3 separate regions of the Homo sapiens genome follow, and regions 2 and 3 are each linked to region 1. The links are contacts of gene promoters, found by promoter capture Hi-C in blood cells and fetal thymus (Javierre and others, 2016). All regions are on one chromosome and are shown on one strand. The core of a region is centred on a gene start or on the middle of the fragment in contact, and the rest is flanking DNA. Distances in the headings are between cores, read along the strand shown.

Evidence for each region. The method cuts DNA at HindIII sites, captures the fragments that hold promoters and counts their contacts. A CHiCAGO score of 5 or more calls a contact.
Region 2: a contact is called between a fragment that was not itself captured here and the fragment with the promoter of GRID1 in region 1, in 1 of 17 cell types (total CD4 T cells). The highest score is 5.0, in total CD4 T cells.
Region 3: a contact is called between a fragment that was not itself captured here and the fragment with the promoter of GRID1 in region 1, in 1 of 17 cell types (activated CD4 T cells). The highest score is 5.1, in activated CD4 T cells.

Annotation. Positions count from the first base shown.
Region 1 is chr10:86,364,963-86,369,588 of GRCh38, reverse strand. GRID1 (glutamate ionotropic receptor delta type subunit 1) reads left to right here and starts at 2,794. Exons shown (of 16, transcript NM_017551.3): 1 at 2,794-3,275. The coding sequence starts at 3,197. RefSeq lists silencers at 2,096-2,305, 2,416-2,805, 2,826-2,875, 3,106-3,305, 3,336-3,485. The HindIII fragment of the contact is 11,562 bases long and covers 1-4,626 here.
Region 2 is chr10:85,560,096-85,564,529 of GRCh38, reverse strand. It overlaps LOC105378404 (a long non-coding RNA gene), which reads left to right. Exons shown (of 6, transcript XR_946157.3): 2 at 2,646-2,772; 3 at 3,209-3,327. Among named protein-coding and RNA genes, the nearest start is that of GRID1-AS1, 15 kb to the left of the region's middle. The HindIII fragment of the contact is 3,990 bases long and covers 679-4,434 here.
Region 3 is chr10:85,520,053-85,524,704 of GRCh38, reverse strand. No RefSeq gene overlaps it. Among named protein-coding and RNA genes, the nearest start is that of GRID1-AS1, 55 kb to the left of the region's middle. The HindIII fragment of the contact is 1,714 bases long and covers 2,060-3,773 here.

The sequences.
Region 1 (4,626 bases), core at 1,545-4,044:
CCTGATGCCTTTCTCTGGGCCTCAGTTTTTCTCTCTCTGAAGTGGATGTGTGTCATATGACCCAGAGATTTCTAATCTATCTTCTCCAGCTAGATTCTTGCATTAGGGGTGAACTTGTTCATTGGGTAGAGTTGCTTCCCCTGGTTTGGAGAGGCAGCATTTGCAGCCCCAGAGGCTATCAGGGATAAGGGTGTTGGGCCAAGAATAGCTGGGCCAGGAGCAATAAACTGTTAAGGGCTTGATGAGTCTGAGCAACTGACCAATAACATCCAATGCCCCTGGAACCTGGCAACTCCAACTTTAGGTGGCAGAGGATTAAACACATTTTGCCTCAAGGTGAGTCTGTACAGGTCCCCAGTGGTCTCTGGGCCTGCCTTCCAGCTCTGTGAGGAACAGGAGCTGAGCAAGTGCCTACAGTCACCACGCTGCCTACAGTGTCCAGGGGATTCTAGCCTGGATAGGAAAACTGGCTTGGCTGAGTGGACTGTCCCAGGGTGAGGATCTGGGAATGAGCATATGGGGATGGCAGACTACCACACGCCCTGGAAGCTGGAGAGGAAGGAGGCACCCAGGACAGAAGGTGAGGTTGCCCCAGGTCAACAACTTCCAGATGAGATCCACCTTGAGTCATGATCCTCAGATGCCAAGCCACAGGAACCTCATCACCCACCTCATCATCCAAACTGGAACTTGATGGAAATCATTCCACAACTATGTGTTGGTGGGTTGTCTTCTTAATACTTGGAAGGAGGTCTTAATACTTATCCCACTGAAATCATGCTACCTACACCTAGCAAAACATACATCAAAGAAAAACTTCTAACTGGGTATATCACATGCCCACTGTACTAACACACTGGAGAACCCCCAACAACAGGAGGCCCGGGGAGAGTCCCTGACCCACAGGGACTTCAGGTCAAGACCACACCCACCATCCTTTCAAGGTGGAGACAGTCCCCGTAGGAACCAAACTGATGTATAATAAAACTCATCATTTATTTCTCTTCTCCCTACAGCATTTCAGCCAGTGAATGGTAGAATTTTGCAGGAATAAGAATTAGAGGTGTAGAGGGTTTTGAGATGCGGGGTGGGTCAGGTTTCACTACTCAAGGACCCTAAGACAGGTTTTTGGAAGAAGTGTGTGTGTGTGTGTGTGTGTGTGTGTGTGTGTGTGTAGGACCACATTCAGCCACTCCCATGGGCAAGTATGACATATGACCACTCCTCTCTTCTTGCCCCCTGGCCTCCTTAACCTAGAAGTCACCTTGCTGGCTCATGGGATTCCTTGATACTTCTGCAATCCAGCTTCTCCGCTCCAACAGGCTGTCCCTGCCCAGCTGAGCTGGCCCACCCAGGGTTCCCTCACAGTGCTATGGGCCTCCACTGGCCCCCTCTGCACAGCCCATCCTCTCCAATCTTTCTTTCCAAAGTGAAATCTACCAATGCTTACTCTTTGGCTCTGGCCACATGAGAGACAGACAGACATACAGACACACACTTCTTTCTTTTTGCCTTGGCTCACCACTATTCAATGCCTGGAAGCCTTATTTTCTCCCTTGGGAACCTCCACTCAGTCTTTACAACTGTCATCTCCTCCAGGAAGTCATCCCTGCTCTTCTTCCCAGGCTGGTTCAGAGCCCAGGCATCTGAGCATACACAGCTCATTCATAGCCCCCCCCAACATTTAAAAGATGACTTGGTTGGGTGTCTGCCTCGCCCACTGCGCTGGGAGCTCTGGGCAAGGGCTGTGGTGGGAGCCTCTCCCCCTGGTGCGTGGCGGGAGTCCTGGGGCCCCTCCGCGGACAACAGGGCCCGGGGACGTTCCCAGGCTTGCTGGAGGAGCAGCTTTTGAACGAGGCTCTGCCAGGTCCCAGACCCCAGGAAGCTCAGCTGTCTCCTCGAAATCTTGGGGGTGCCACATGGAGCCCAGTCCCTTTCAGGCACGAGCCCACAACAGCTTAACGCTCTCTTTGGTGGTGGCCGGCCCGAGGCAGGCACCGGAGGCGGAGGGAGCCCTGTTCCGCTGTGGCCGCGAGGAGCGGGCTCTTCGCCCGGGCTCGCACATGAAAGCTCCGTGCAGGGTCGGAGTCTGAGCCCGCCGGCCGCTTGGAAGGCTCCTCACGTCCAGGCGCCGCGGTCACGGCTGCGCTGGTTTCCGGCCATGAATTGGGCTTCAGAGTCCGAGCCTCTTGCCCGACTCCCGGCTGAGCGCGCTGCCCATGGAGCGGGGGATGGGCGCCCGCCGAGGTCCGCGCGGCCAGCCAGGGTTCGAGCCCACGGCCCGGGCTCTACTCTGAGATGCTTGCGGCGGCCGGCCCCCTCTGGCTCCCCAGCTGTCCTGGGGCCTGGCCCGGCGCCCCGCCCCGGTCTCTCTTCTTGCTCCCCAGGTCCCACTCCACGAGGAACGGTCTGTTTCGGCCGGGGACATGACCCGAGACGCGCGGCTGCTGAGGTCGCCAGGGCGCTTCGGGAGCCCCTCGAGGGCAGTTAGCGGCCGGCCCTCCTCCATTCTCCCGCCCCTGGCGAACCGGAGAAGGAGGCCCGAACCGTCAGAGCTCGGCGCGCCGCAGCCCAGGCCGGTCCCCGCCGCTGTGCCGGTCTCCGAGCGTCCCCCGAGCCGGGAGCGTGGAGCACCCGGCGCCCCCTCCGAGCCGCGAGCGGGCGAGAGCCGCGCGGCGAGGCTGAGGCTCCGCAGTCACGTGGTAGAGAGGCGGGCGGAGGGGAGGGAGGCGGGCAGGGAGGGGAGGGGGAGCGGAGCTGAGGGGGAGGGGGAGGGGAGGGGGCGTCCTCCGCAGTTCGCTCCTCGCCGGGGCTCAGACACACAGCCAGCCCAGAGCCGCCACGCCGGCCCGGCCGCCGCCGCCACCGCCTCAGCCTCCCCCGAAGCCGCTCTAGCCGCGGGAAGCGCCGCTGCCACAGCCGCGGGCCGCCCCCGCCGCGCCGGCCTGGGCTCAAGCTGCCAGCACCGCCGCAGCCGCCACCGGAGCCGGAGCGGGAGCCCGACCGCGCTGGGCTGGGCTGGGCTGGGCTGGGGCGGGCGCAGGGCGCAGGGGCGGGCGCGCGGGGGAAGACGCACGGGCGGGCTCGGCTCTCCCGGGGAGCGGCCCGGGACTGCACCGGGACCAGCGCCTCCCCGCTTCGCGCTGCCCTCGGCCTCGCCCCGGGCCCGGGTGGATGAGCCGCGCGCCCGGGGGACATGGAAGCGCTGACGCTGTGGCTTCTCCCCTGGATATGCCAGTGCGTGTCGGTGCGGGCCGACTCCATCATCCACATCGGTAAGCGCGGCTGGAGGCCGGGCCGAGGCTGGGCGGGGGCCCCAACGGGGCAGGGGGTGCGCGGCGTCCAAACTTGGCGTTTCCCTGGGCCGAGGGGCTCGGCGGGCGGTGCTCCCCCGAAGGGCCGCGCCGCGCCGCCCGGCGGAGGAGCTGTGCACCGGCCGCGCCGCGCTCCCGCTGGCTGCTTGCCGCTCCCCGGGGCTCCGATCTCCGCGCGGGGCCCCGCGGCCTCTACCGACACTTAGGGCCGACGCTTCGGGGAACACCGGGATGGACGCGCGTCGAGACCCGCGCCCTTAGCGGGGCCGTCGGCGGGTCGGGAGGGCCCTTCTGCGCAGCTCAGAGCAGCGGGGGGCAGGGGGAGGTACAGCGGGGGGCTCGCCAAGTTGGCAGGGCAAGATCAAAGAGGCCGGACCGGAACCGTGTGTGAATGTGTGTGGGTGCGTGTTGTCAGCGTGTGTCGCTGTGTGCGCCTGGCACGGTGTCGGTGTTACTGTGAGAGGGTGTTGGGGTGTGTGGGGCCATCTGAGCGTGTGTTGGTGCGTGCACGACTGTCTGTCAGCCTGTTAGAGTGGACACAGTGTCTGCCTGCTTCTCCGGTGTGTGTCTGTGTAGCCCTTGGTGTATGTGTGAGTGCGTGTGTATCTGGTTGTGGCGACTGCATCCCCATCCTGGACAGTCCTAGAGTTTTGCGTGGTCCAAGTCTTGGGGGCCCAGACGGTCTGGGTGGTGGGAGCCGAGGGAAGAAGCGTGGGCAGCGGGGGGTAGGGGGATGCTGAGCGGGAAGAGATGGATAGAGAGAGAGAACCGGGAGAGAAGATGAAAGCGCAGAGGAGGAGGGGGCGCGCCGAGGGGGAGTGGGCGCGCCGAGGGGGAGTGGGTGGGAGTTGGGAGCAACACGGGAGGAATCTCGGGAAGTTGGGCCGAGTTGGGGGGCTGACAGCGGTCGCTTTGGGGGAGTCCCTCCGCAGTCGTCTTTCCGGAAGTTGGGAAAGACCAGCGAGCACAGGGAAACTGGGGGTTGGGAGGTGTTGAAGGCGAGGAGGACGGGACAAGGCGGGAGGGTGGGTGGTGGAGTGGGGTGGTGAGGACTAGGCCTGGGCTCGGAGAGCTACGATTCCTCCTCAGGGGCCCGTGACCAAACCTGCTTCCCGCCCTGGAGGGGTGCGGGTCTCGCGGTCAGCATTGCGGCGCCGGCTCCGGGTGTAGTGAGGAATCCGGGCCTCCCTCCTCCTACCCAGCCCCCAGCTCGAGGGATCACTGGGCCTAGCTCCGGGACCTCAGGGACCCTCGAGGCTTGGTGAGGCGGGATGTGGGTGGCTGACTCCAGAGCTGTCCAGGTTGCAGGACT
Region 2 (4,434 bases), core at 1,424-3,923, 800 kb after region 1:
TCATGTAATATTCCATTATAGGAATATCATGAAATTTATTTTCCTACTCTATTCTTCATAGATTTTGCAATTAGTCATTATACTTTAAAATTCCATATTATCTACAAATAATTAGTTTTATTTGTCACTTTCTGATTCATATACATTTGTTTTCATTTCCTTTCCTTATTTTATCACACAGAAATGTGGTAAAATCAGTATAAAATTGATTGGACACACGAGAGTTAACATTCTGGTTGCTAAAACACCAGATGATTTTTTTTAAAAGATTAAGAAAAATCTTGTATTCTAGATTTTCAAATTCTTTTTAATTTTTGTCATCAATAGAGGTTGAATTTTATCAAATTATACTTAGGTATTTATTGAGATAATAAACTTTTATCCCTTATTCCATTAACAAGATATATTATGTTGATTAATTTTTGAAAACTGAAGCAAATTGCAATCCAGAAATAAACCTAAATTGGACGTAGTATGTTATAATTTGTATGTATTACTGACTTTTTAACAAATATTATCTTTAAGAGTTTTCATTTTTTTTATACGTGGATTGTCCAGTACATTTCTTTTCTTATAATTCCTTCATCATGTTTAAATACCATGTTAACTCTGGTTTCTTAAAATAAAATAGTCAGTGCTCTGACTTTTTTTACTTCTTTAGAAATATTTTTATAAGCTTGGTGTTATTCTTTTATTAAAGTTTGCCAATCTTGTGCTTTGAAGCCATCTGAAACTGCTCTTTTATTTGTGAAGAGGTTTTTATGTGTTTTTTTAAGAATGCAGTTTTTTAATAGAGAAAGGACAATTTATGTTTTCTTTGATCTTAGGTCAGTTGTAATAATTTTTTAAGACTTTTTGATTTTATTCAAATTTTTACATTTATTTTCCAAAAGTTGACCATAATATCCTTTATTTTTAAATTTGATGTCTTTTTATTTTTTATTTCTGATTTTGGAAATTTGTCCTCTCTTTTTTCTATTCATTAGCATTAACAAATTTTTAAATCAATTTTGAATTCTATTTAAAGTATAAATTTTTGTTGTCAATCCTCTTGATCATATTTTGTTTTTTATTTAATTAATTTGATCTCATATTGATTTTCTTCATATACTTCCTTTGTGCTTCCTTTTTCGATTTAATTTTCAGTTTGTTATGTCTTCTGACTCTCATGGTAGATTATTATCTTATTTTATGTAAGCACATCTTCAGCAGAGGCTATTTTTGTCTATAGAAATATTATATATTCTAATTTTTATAATTGTTAATATGAATAGCTTTGATTTATTTTTATTAGATAGCCTACGAGTTTCAACAGTTTGGAGCTAGATTTAACCTTTTTTTATTTGTGAATTATTTTTTATTCATAGGATTAGACAAACTTTTGATTTCATTTGCATACATGAAGCAGTTTATGAGTTTAATTCCACAGGAGATATAGAAGACATTTTTACCCACCCAAAGCCCTAGGCAGAAGCATGTTTACTTTTCATTTCTCATTGTCCTGGGGAGAGAGTGTAAGTATTCTCTTCTTCCTATCACTTAGGTACAATCCTTCTATGATTCTGATTCTGAGCAGAGCTGCTCAGCTCATCCTCTGGTAAATTCAAGCCAAAAGCTAAGTGTTCTCTTTCTGAGGCAGCACCAAGACCCCCAGCCCTTCCCTCTGAGGTCTGAGTCTTTCATGCTATCACACCAGACTTCTACAGAGACATCTATAGGGCTTATTGTTTCATTAATTTTACTCATGGTTTCTAGATTTCCTTTTCTTTTAGACATTAAAATACTGCATTGGATATTGCAGTATGTTGTGTACTGGATACTGGATGCTGCATTGTGATAGAGATGTATGCTAACTGCTTCCACAATATTGTTGGACTCCTGATTCTAGTCTACCTTTATAAAAGTTAGACTGGAGTCTGATTTGTGTGTTTCAAGTGAGGTAGTGAGGATAACAATATTAGCCTGGATATTATAGTAAGGTAACTATGCATTTGGATGATCAGGAAACAAGACAAAATGGTTAAACTGTGTAACATAAATTTTATTCTGTTTGCAAGATAGCAAGCATATAAAAATACTACTCCTGAGACAGCCTCAATATCAGGCAAGCCTTAGCAAACAATGTGCCTTGGACTTAAGCATCAATAAATCAAAATGCAAAATTTTTTCTTCTTCACAATGCAAATATACGTAAGAGTTGAGGCTGAGCATAAGTCCACACTGGGAAAAAATAACTAAGCCCATCAGCATGCATTGGGTTTTAGTGAATTTGGCTTCATATACCCCTAATTTAGAGTGTCCCAAAGTTTGCAATTAAAAGCTACAACTGAACAGTGGCTGAACACTGACTCATTAGTAGAGACTTACAAAAGCTCAACAAAAACCTCCTAAATTATAGACCATAGCTATTCACAAGGCTTTCTCAGTTTTGGCAAAGCAGTGTTTTTAAAGGGTAAGAGTGTGTTTGGGGATGGAATTGTGTATTTTTTTCATCACTACGTATTTATTTATATCAATATTTTATTGTGTCACAGATACAGAAATGGGCAATAGAACTTCATCATTCAACAATCTAGAGGAAAATTCTTTTAGTTTTTTTTTTTTTTAATTTTCACCTATTTCTAACTCCATCTCTCTCCCATCAGGTTATCCATAGTGTGTAAAATCTACATGTTTTGGAGCATATTTTTATTCTTAAAAAATAGTGCTACAGATTATGGTGGATAATGCAGGTGCCCCACCACATCCCCTAGCTGCCGTGAATGTTGACTGGTAAGACCCCCGATAATCCCCTTTACTGAATTATTGCCCTTAGCTGTATGAGAGATACCCCTACCTTGCTTCTTTAAAACAATAATTTCAACTTTTATTTTATATTCAGGGAGTACATGTGCAGATTTGTTACAGGGGTATATTGTGTGATGCTGAGGTTTGTGGTACCAATGATCCTGTCACCAGTTAGTGAGCAAAGTACACAACAATTGGTTTTTTGCCCCTTGCCCCCACTTCTACCTCCCTCCTCTAGTAGTCCCCAGTGTCTATTGTTCCCAAGTCTATGTCCATGAGTACCCAATATTTAGCTCATACTTATAAGTGAGAACATGCTGTATTTTGGTTTTCTGTCACTGTGTTAATAATTTGCTTAGGATAATGACCTCCAGCTACATCCATGTTGCTGCAAAGGACATGATTTCATTCTTTTTTACAGCTGGATAGTATTCCATCTACCTTGCTTCTTGCTTCTCTCATTCTTCTTTTCTTAAGAGAAGCACTTCAACAAGAATTCTTCTCAGGCTCTGCTTTTGGGGAAAGCAACCTAAGACACAGGTTTGTTATAGAAATTATATTTGTACTCATATATATTAATATTTTAGGTATATGTGTATTTTGATAAGAGCAGCAAGAATGGCAGAATAATTTGAAAAAAAGAGGAATAAGAGGAGAGGAACTTTTTTATTAGATAACATGACCAAATAAACCTTATAGTCATTAAACAGTGTTTTAGACATAGTGATATCAACTCTAAGAAACAGGATGGAAATGCAGAATGAGAATCAGGTGTAATTATTTTGTTACTGATACGTAACTAGTGCTTAGAACACAGTTGAATACATGGTAGACAATGAAAACATATTGATCAGATGGAAAATTGACGTGCAACAGAGCTGGCATTACAAAGCAGTTGGGAAGAAGGGATCATTCCAGTAAAAGGTTCTGACATAGTAGCTTATCCATATGAAAAAAAAATTGAATCCCATCTTTATACTGTAAAAACAGATCAATTCCAGTCGGTTAAAGATGTAATTGTAAAAAGTAAAATTTTAAAATGTTTAGCAGAAAATATAGCAAATATCTTTATGACCTCGATATTGGAGAATGCTTTTTCAAATACATCAAGAACCACGTGAACATAAAGAAAAGATGGATTTCAAACTTTTAATTAAAAATATTCTGCATCAAAAATACAAACAAATGGAAAAGATAACCCACAGATCAGGAAGCATATTTGCTGTGCACAAAACTGACAAAGAATTAGCATTCAGTAGTGTATATAGAATTACTATAAATCAATAAGAAAATAGATGAAAATTGAAAAACAAAAAAAAAGATATGAAGAAGTAAACCCCAAAGAGTAAATAAATACATGTTAAGATTCTCAACCTCAGAAGACTTCTCGTATTCATCAGATAAATAAATTTTATAAGGCAACAACTAACAATATTATCTGAATGTGCCACATGTTAGCAGAGATGTCAGTAAAGAAAAAGGATGTACCGCAGGTACATCCATGCGGTAGCAGTGAGAATATAATTGGAGTCACCACTTTGGAGAATCATTTGACAATATCTAGATAAATGCAAACACTACTGTTATAGGAATTTCAGATTTAGTATTATACCATAGGTGAATTCATACACATGTGAACAAGAAGAC
Region 3 (4,652 bases), core at 1,667-4,166, 850 kb after region 1:
CTGGGTACTGAGGACAAGACACTAGGAAGGTAGCAGCTGTCATTCAAAAGACCACCAGGATGGATAGTAGAAATTATTGGCAGTAGCAGTTTGCAAACTGGGAAGACACTTTCTATGGCTGGTACTAAAGCTACTTTCTCTTTGAAGAGTGGAAGGACAGGTTGGGTTTTATGGCTCAGAGGGCCAGTATCATACATATTCAGCAGATTTGGGAGAAAGCTATACATATTTATGAGAGAAGCCAAGTGCATGCATAACGGGTAAACCAGTACGTATCATACATTCCATGTTCACTTTAGGGCAGGGTTTTAGCATTGAAATGGGGTGGAATTTGGCTCTTCACATCAAAGGTGAATTATAAGACACAAAGACAATTTGTGCGCAGCCTCTATGAGCTGCTGCAAATGGTTTAAGTTCTGCAATTACTTATCAGAAAAGAATGTTTGTAAGGCTGGTGGTCTGTCCAATCAGATGTGTAGCGGCCTGGGTTGCAAATCAGCCTGACAGCTCCTATTGCTGGGGAGTTTTGTGAGGGTGTGATTTTTTTCTTGTGGTCATAGGAATTTAGAAATTTGCCATACCAGCTGGGCCCTGAATGCTCGATCCATGGGTAACTTTTGTTTTCTTAACCTTAGGGCCTGTCTTAGTTGATAAAGCAGTATCTATTTCAGTCTTTCAGACCACACAGGTATTGAGGATAAGGAGAGAAGCAAGGGCAACACCCTTCCCTAGTTCACAGGCCACTTGGCAGAGTGAACAACATAGAACAGACCCAGTTTCAGATCAGAGCTCTTCCAGTGACAGCAGGTTAACACTAACAAGCCCTTCTCCTTGCTATGCCTCAGTTTTCTCCCCTATAATTACTGTTGTTATCTTTCAGATTCAGTGCTATTAAAAAATGAAGCCCTGATGGAAACAGAAGACTCAAGGAAGAGACGGCAGATTGCAGCAGACAAGATTATAGCAGACAAGATTAAAATATAAGATCATTCAGTCTGCGTTCTTTGTTTTGGCATATTTGTTTTTAATAGGCTTTCTTCTTATACACAAAACAAAAGCTTATACTAGAAACATTATTCAAAAAGATAATAGTTCACATTTACTAAATTCCTACTTGGTTGCTAGGCCCTGAGCAAAGTAAATTACACATTTTATTGCCATTGAGACTTGGAGTGATTGAGTTACCAATGTGGCAGGGCAAGTAAGTGGCACACCAGGATTTTAACCAAAGTGCTAACTTCAGAGCATAGAATCTTGATTATTAACCTATTTTTCTAAGAAAAAGGGGGTAAGTTAATCCCATCCCACTGTAAAGTAATGTTGGTTAGCATTCTTCCTTCTTTTTTTTTTTTTTTTTTTTTTTTGAGATGGAGTCTTGCTCTGTCGCCCAGGCTGGAGTGCAGTGACACTATCTCAGCTCACTGCAACCTCCACCTCCCGGGTTCAAGTGATTCTCTTGCCTCAGCCTCCCCAGTAGCTGGGATTACAGGCTCCCATGACCACGTCGGGCTAATTTTTGTATTTTTAGTAGAGACAGAGTTTCACCATGTTGGCCAGGCTGGTCTCTAACTCCTGACCTCAGGTGATCCACCTGCCTCAGCCTCCCAAAGTGCTGGGATTACAGGCATGAGCCACTGGGCCTGGCCACTTCCTTCTTTCTAATATTTACAACTCTTATTTTTGATCTTGATAACACTGAGTTCCACTTCCAGATGAATATTCAATAACATTGACATCATCTTACTTTGTATCAGATTTCAAAGTTTTAATTGAAATAGTTACATGAAAAGTTGAGGAAGTTGAAATCCAAAAATCTGGCGGTGCAAATATTCTGAGGTAAAAAGTTTCCAGGTTCTAGGAAGCCTCATAAAATCCCATAGCTGGAGAGGCAGATAGGGGCTTGACCAAGACCTGATAGTCAATGTCTAGTTCTTTTGCTGAGTACAGTAGGAAATTGCCAAAGAATTTTAAGCAATGGAGGGGAAAGATATAATGAACATAGTTAAAATGTTCACTTAATTGAAAAAATGTTGGTAAGTCATGTGGAGAATTGAAAGCTTTGTTTGCTACTAGCAGGGGTGTGAAATGGCACAACCATTATTGAAAACAGTATGGCAGTTACTGGGAAAAAAGGGCAATTCATTCGGTAATCCCCATCATGGCCTCAGGTTTCTGCCTGGGGGACAGTTTTCTGATGGCTGTGTAGTGAGCTGGAGTCCAAGCAAAGAACAGCAGCATCACTGATCAGAGGAGGTAGATATTAGGGTTTGAGAAAACCAAAGTTGCTGGAATTTAATAGGCAGGCACTAGAGGATAGAGAGCTGGACAGAGGTTTCCTCATGAGTCTCCATGAGTCCTTGACAAGGACCCAGGGCTGTACAAGTTTAATGAGAAACTTAGAAGATGTAGCTGTTATAGGATGGAGAACGGAACAGATACTAGAGCTCAAGCAGTGCTCAGGGATGTTGGAGATATCCACTTAAGACATCTTTAGGCTTTCCCTTATGATATGGTTTGGCTGTTTCCCCCCACCCCAATCTCATCTTGAATTGTAGCTCCCGTAATCCCCACATATCCTGGGTAGGACCTGGTGGGAGGTAACTGAATCATGGGGGCAGGTTTTCCACTTTCTGTTCTCAGGATAGTGAATAAGTCTTATGAGATCTGATGGTTTTATAAAGGGCAGTTCCCCTGCACATGCTCTCTTGCCTGCTGCGATGTAAGACGTGCCTTTGCTCTTCCTTTGCCTTCCACTATGATTGTGAGGCCTCCCCAGCCATGTAGAACTGTGAGTCCATTAAACCTCTTTCCTTTATAAATTACTCAGTCTCAAGTATGTCTTTATTAGCAGTGTGAGAATGGACTACTACTCCTTATAAGGAAAGATTAAATTTTTAGTAAGTTTTATTTTATTTCTCTTTAAAAAGTCTGAAAACAAACTTTAACAAGATTCTGAAAAAGAGACAGTGTTTGGAAGTTGAATCTTGCCATGTTAAAGAGGACATGAAAACAGAACTGCTTTTCAACAGATCTTCCATAATAAGATGTAAGAAAACTTACTCAGTTGCAAGGTGAGCAAGAAGTAAACTACTTACTAGAACAAAAGCCAACACTCTTTAGAAAAAGATGACAGAATCCAAAGTCCATACAACTCTACACAGCAATGTCTAGTAGGAAATCAAAAATTGCTGAACATAGATAAAACTAGTCATGGGGGAAAAAAGTCAATAGAGATTGACCACAAGATGGTCTTTAATATGGACTTAGCAGAAACACACACACACACACACACACACACACACACACACACACACACACACAATGTAAAACAGCTACTATAAAGTGCTGGAAGAACATAAAGAAATATGTTTAAGGAATAAAATAAAATATTATATTAATGAATAAGGCATTCAGAAATCACCTAAGAGGAATGGAAACTATGACAAATAACAAAATACACATTTAGGAATTCATTGCAGGAAAAATTTATTGCATGGTCAGATCAGCAGATTGAAGGTAGAGAAAAATTGAGGAATCAAACTTGACTCAAAATCTAAAGAAATAATCTAATCCAAAGAAGAGATAAAATAAAGGTAGAAAAAACTATCAACAGAGCCTCAGGGTTATGTGAGTCAATATAATATGGTCTGATGTGTGTAAATAGGATTTCTATAAGGAGACTAGATGAATAATGATACAAAAATGCTTGAAATACAATAACTGAAAAGTTACAAACTGTGATGAGAAACATTGACTTACAGATATAAGAAGCTTAATGAACTCCTAGCAGAATAAATACAGAGAAAACTGCTTCAAGGTGTATTATAGTCAACCTACTGAAAACCTAAGAGAAAGAGAAGATATTTAAAGTATCCAGTGAAAAAAAGTCACATTATATACAGGAAAGCAAAGAGGAGAATGACCAATAACTTCTCATCAGGAAGAGAGCAGGCCAGGGTACAATGCAATGACATCCTTAATGTGCTGGGGTGGTGGTGGTGTCAGTCAACTCAGAATTCTATACAAACTAAAAATAACATCTAAAAATGAAGGGCTAATAAAGACATCTGATAAATAAAACTGAGAGAATTTGCTACTAGCAGACTTGCAATGGAAGAAATTCAAAATGTTCTTAAGGTTGAAGAAAAATGATATCAGACGGAAATTCAGATATCTAGGAAGCAAAAGAAAGCAACAAAAATTGAAAAGAAGTAGTTACACATAAAAAGCTATTCATTTTGCTGCTTATAATTTCTATAAATAATAACTGTTTACCACAAAATATTAACATCATAAAGTAGGATTATGGTGTAGAAATAAAAAGTGGCACAATAGCACTAAAGAAAGGGGTTATGTACATATAACTTTACTGCTTTTTAATTATTACATTTGAAAAGTGATAAGTGGGAGGTGTGAAGAGCATAGTGGAAAGTGGAAGCATCAGAAGAGGAAAGTGTCAGGTGTGAAGTGGAAACATTAATCTGTCTGGCTACTGGAAATTAAGTACAGATTATTAGCCCTAGAGCAACTATAAAAAATAATGAAAGAGATATTGATGAGAAGTTAATAGACGACATAAAATATGTGATTGTGTTCGAGTATCACCCACCTCCAACCCCCCCCCCAAAAAAAAGCAAGAAAACATCAACAGA